2 separate regions of the Homo sapiens genome follow, and region 1 is linked to region 2. The links are contacts of gene promoters, found by promoter capture Hi-C in human tissues and cell types (Jung and others, 2019). All regions are on one chromosome and are shown on one strand. The core of a region is centred on a gene start or on the middle of the fragment in contact, and the rest is flanking DNA. Distances in the headings are between cores, read along the strand shown.

Evidence for each region. Contacts are between HindIII fragments. The study calls those that stand out against the background at their distance.
Region 1: a fragment that was not itself captured here is called in contact with the fragment with the promoter of TMEM108 in region 2 in 2 of the 25 tissues and cell types used here (pancreas and psoas muscle).

Annotation. Positions count from the first base shown.
Region 1 is chr3:133,089,475-133,092,221 of GRCh38, forward strand. The region is part of intron 2 of TMEM108 (transmembrane protein 108); the gene reads left to right. Among named protein-coding and RNA genes, the nearest start is that of TMEM108, 52 kb to the left of the region's middle. The HindIII fragment of the contact is 4,180 bases long and covers 1-2,747 here.
Region 2 is chr3:133,037,014-133,039,713 of GRCh38, forward strand. TMEM108 (transmembrane protein 108) reads left to right here and starts at 1,378. Exons shown (of 6, transcript NM_023943.4): 1 at 1,378-1,422. RefSeq lists an enhancer at 1,072-1,366. The HindIII fragment of the contact is 13,936 bases long and covers 1-2,700 here.

The sequences.
Region 1 (2,747 bases), core at 126-2,625, 52 kb after region 2:
TTTTTGGTCCACTTTACTCTGAATGTGCCTCATGGACTCATGTGGTGCTCTATGGGCAGGTGAGTCTAGTGACACCAATTATAGGTTGTCACTTCATATAAATAGTAACTGAAGAAACAGTGAACTTGACAAGGACAGAGAGGAGAAAAGATGTTTGGGAGCAGGAAAAAGGTTGGCTTAATGATTGTCTACCTTCTATAATCCCAGATTAATACCAGGCTGCATGGTTCAGAGGTGCAAGCTATCTCTTGTTTTCTGATTCTTAGGAAAAAATGCTAATGGTCTGGTTGAAAACCTAGTTCATTCATAAACTGACCTGCTGAAGGCAGGTCTGACTATCTTGAATAGACAGCAAATAGATTTGTTTGCTGGCTGTATATCAGCATTTGTAAGAGTTTCAAGTTCAATTAAATGTCAATTTAGCATGTGTTTAATATGTAGAATTTATTCCTGAATCAAACTATGCAAAAATGAAGGGCTCAGCTACTGGAATTTAAAGGCAAGTTCTTACTCTGTCAGCCCTGTGGGTTGAACATAGGTTGTAGATTAAAATGAGACCAGCAAGCATGAAGAACACCTTAACAATGGAAGGTGGTGGCCAGTGGGTTTTAGAGGCATGTTACTGAAACCCTGGAAACTTTGTGGCCAGTGCCTAAGTACAAAATGAATCATTACCTGAGAGAGAGATCATTGTTTTAAAAACATGTAGATTGTCACTGTAGGATCTGTAGTCTTTCCCATTAAAACGAAACAAAAAACTTCCCTGAAATCTTTCATACAAAACACCTGGAACCAAGCAAAAGGTCATCAGGGAGCATTTCTTGAACTCTCTGGCATTTCAAGGCAGTGATGTCATTCTTATTGCTTGATAAACATAACAATTCTTCAGGAGTCTTTTTCCTCCCATTTAATTTAAAAGGGAACTATTACATAGCTGCTGTATTGTTGGGATTAAGTAATAGGGGCGTGAGGCCCTTGTATCTTTAGGATTCTTTCCCATCTCAGCTGTAGGCAGACACTTTTGGGACAAAGCCATCAGTAAGCATCAGTAAGTCATTTCGCATTACTATAAAGAAATAATATATTCATATATTGCCAAGTAAAGCTTGAGAAGTCAATGCACTACCATTCTCTTAAGAATTATCGTAAGAAATTTCAAAGGCGCATTTTTAAGAGTGGGGCAATCTCCCATGCAGTCAGCATCCACAGAAACTCATTGGTTAGCAGTTTGGAGTTTTTCCTTCCGGTATAATTTACATGCATATAGGGATATATTTTTATTTTATAAAATTAAGATCATACTGAATTTAAGGACATATATCTTACATTTTCACACATCTTATAATTTACTATGTCACTAAATATTCTTAGAGAACTTGAAAGTATTCTATTATATGGAGCTCCCAGAATTTATTAACATACTGCTTTTGTTAAATGATAGTTATCTGCTGTTTTTTACTTTTATAAAAGTGATGATCATCCTTGCACATTAGATTAATATTTGTGAATTTTTAGGGTAAATCACTGTAAGTAAAACTATTGGGTTAAATATATACATTTTTAATAAACATTGCCAGAATACTTCCAAAAAGCTGATTCCAATTTGTAATTCCTGTAGAAGTACATGAGAGTATCTATTTCAATGTAGTCTACTGACACTGTTACTGTTAAAAATATTTCCTAGATTCTTAGATAAAACATGGTATCTTATTTTAATTTGTATATCTTTGATTACCTGAGAAATTGAACTTTTCCATATATTTGTTACTTGTATTTATTATTGTCCTGGCTTTTTCTGTACTCTAGATCCTCTTTACAGGGATCTTCTGTTCAGGTAGGCTTCCCCAGTGAGTGTGAATTATGGGGCAATAATAGATTGTAACTAACCACAAACCAGGCCAAGGGACAGCTATTCTTATGGACTTGTTGACTAGATCAGTGGCTTTTATGTCTACTTAATGCACATCTGTCATAACTTTCTGTTTCTTATTTATTCTTCCCCTGACATTTATTGATTATGATGCATAATATGGTTTAGTAAGCTGCTAAGGAAACCATGTGATGGGTGGGATAATTTTTCTTATCAGGAATTTACAAATTAATTAGTATCATACTTGAAAACTTTGCATTTGTCATTAAAGAAGTTAAATACCACTCTACTTATTCACCAGCTACTTATTCAAATACTTTGGCCTAGGGAAGACTGTGAGAGGTTATCAAGTTCATTTTTCTGCCATTAGGCAAAACCTAATCAAACGAGGCTAGAAGAGGCAGTAGAGAAATGTAAAGTATTGCCTCTCCCAGCCTCATTTGATTAGGCTTTGACTAAAGGCAGAAAATGAACTGATGAAGAAATATTTCTCTGATTTGAGAGACTTCTTATAAAAAAAAAACAAAACCCAAACCATCATGGTAGCATAAGAGCATGAATGTATCATGATTGTTTTGAGCCTCTCAGAGAAAACGCATTATTTGGTATCTACTCTTGCTAATCATCAACTAGTTTGTCCCTGTCTAATAAGATGCTGAGTCTATAAAGTATGATGACTTCAGTAGTACTTGGAGCTTCCAAATTGCAAGGCATGTCTTGGGAGGAAGACGACAGCTTTTCCTCTTCTGCTAAACTGAGGCACTCTTCTCTGATACCTATTGAAATGGTAGAGATGGTAGTCAAGAGGAAACAACCCATCATTTGAGCCTTGATTTTATAAACAGTTTAGTAATACATAGAAGTCAACTTCATTCCA
Region 2 (2,700 bases), core at 128-2,627:
GACAATGTGATGAACAATGTCTGAGATTGCTAGGTGGGCTTCACTTCTGGGGATGAGAAGCCAGAGAAGTTCAGGACACACTGACAAAGGTGAAGTTTTCTCTAAGCGACAGTTTGATCACCTTGATAGTGAGAGAGAAATGCTGAAGCAGGGTTATACCACCTGGTTTCAAGAGATGAGAGATGAAGGTTTTGGAGAATTCAGCACTTAAGAATCTTGAACCACGGCGGTACACTACTGGGTAATAAGAGCTTGGCTACGCTGAACGACAAAGGTTCTAGCTGGCCAGTCCGAAAACACTGAGTCCTTAGGTCAAATTTGAGAAATGACAGGGCCAGTGGGAGTCCTAACTTCTAGACTCTGGAATTACTGACAGAAGAATATTTGGACAGTTTTTAAGACCCTCAAGGCATATTATTTTACAACCTCTTTAGCTTATGCCTGAATTTGTGCTGTGACTGTTAGCTTCCCGGATGTTTTCTCCACATGCTTCTTTCTGAACTAGCCTGTATAGTTCTACAACAAATTGTTACGTTTTGAGAAGCAGGGACCACTTATACCACTTCTCTGGCCAAGTGTCTGGCACCGCGCCACTCAGACACACACGCCCAACCCTTTAGGATTAACGTAGACACAGTGTTCTCTTCCATGGCCATTCCGTCTCCACTTCTGGTTCCACACTCCAGTCACCAAGTTGGCATGATTGCTGCTCCATAGACCAAGGGTGGGTAATGTGGGGATTAAACACACCTTCCCTCAGCTGGTGCCCAAACTGTAAGCATCACCGGGACACCCCATGTAGCCACAGGAACGCTTCTCATCAGTGGAAGAAGGACAAGAAAGGTCGTGCAAGTTTCAAATTACGTGGAGCTGGGGCTACAGCCATTACTTTCGGACAGGTGCAATTCAAAGCGTGATCCTCCGACCAAGAGCTTCGTCATCGCCACCTGGGAGCTTATTAGAAATGCAGGATCTCAGGTCTCCACCCCAGACCTTCTGGATCAGAATCCGCATTTTAACAAGAGAGTCAAGTGATTCTTATTTATATTAGAATTTGAGAAGTCAATTGATCTGGTAATTGATCAACTGAGTGCCACTTAGCCCCCGAAAACAGAGACCCTTTGTGCCCGCCTCGCACCCGCTCTGCTAGGTAGCAACCGAACCCCCAGAGACATCGGAGCGGGCGCTGCCGAGGGCAATTTGGTGATTGGCTGGTCTCACCACGTGACCGGCGCTGAGCCTTCCGTGCGACCGGATTGGCTGTCGCGGACGCTGACGGACAAGGCCGGGGCGGGCCAGAGCCTGGTCGGAGGGGCGCGCGCGGGGGCCCGAGGGGCGAAGGCGCGAGTGCGCGAGAGCGCGTGCGCGAGCGGTGGGGCTTTCTCCTGAGCCGTCGGAGGGAGCCGGAGCGCTTCTCCCGAGGTAAGCGGCGCTCCGGGGCGTCCCCCCAGTCCTTCCCATGCTGGGTCCCGGCAAGCGGGTTAGGCTGGGCTGGGCGGGGCTCGGGGAGGTGTGGGGTCAGCTTGCCCCGGGAGCCCAGCTTCAGGGAGGATGCAGCCCCGGTTGCCTTGGTTTCCCTTTTCCTATCCTCTCAGGCACCTTCCCATCCTCCCCACTGCGTGACGGGTCTGCCCGAGGGGAGTTGCCCACCTGGCAGCCCTGCCTCCGCCTTTGTTTCCCGCCTGGAGGGTTGCTGGCATGAACCCCCTCCCCAGGTGGAGGGTGCGGGTGATGGGGCGCGGGCGTCAGGAGCGCTGGACCTGGGCTGGGGCCGAGGAGGAGGTGGCTTTAATGCAGGGGGACCTGTCACATGGGGAAACGAAGAAGAAGAAATGTAGTGTCACTTTGGCCAGCCCGAGGGACTCGAACTAATCCTGCGGCCGCGAGCGGAGCCGAATTCCTAGCGCAGCTGTGCGAAGAGCCCTCCTGCCTAGGTGCCGGCGGCCTCGCCGGGGACGGAGCCTCCGTGCTGCCCGGGAGGTTGCTCTGCCGGCTGGACCTGGCGGTTTTCACCCCAGAGTTGCAGCGAAATTGAACGCTTTGAGCCTGCTGGAGGAATCCAGAGATTGGTTCAGGGGCTATTTTTTTTTTTAAGCAGTTGGGCACCGGTGGAGCCGGTCTAAATGAAAGTCTACAAAAACCAATTTCAGATGCAGCGTAACTGATGACTGGTAAATGGTGAGGAGGGAAATGCCTGCAGTGAACTGCAGACCACCACACTGAGATTCTTCCTTAAGAAGATAGGGGTTTTTTTCGGAGGAAAGGTTGTAGTTTCTGCAAACAGGTTTTTCTGGGGGTACCCAGGAAGGTTATTACTTATTTTCAGCATGTTACTGGGTTGTGGGGAGAGGGAAGGCAGGGTCTAAACTAAACCTACTCACACGTCCTTAATTCTTTGAAAAGTGTGTGCTCGATGAAGACCATTTGGCTGCCAAAAGAGGTTTGTATGGGAGTCCGGGGGAGATGGATTGTTGCCTTTAAATCATACTTTAAAAAGGGGAAGGTATGTCCAGGAACTTAAGAGCAGGTCAAGCTATGGAAAGTATTCCCTGCCTCTCCTCCATTTCCCCAGACAGCTCATAGGCAAACATAAAAAGTCCCTTCAATTTTCCACGGGTTAACTTCTTGATTTGTTGGATACACCTGGTAATCTACTCTGTAAGAAATGGTTCAACTAACTCATTATGAAGATATTACTGT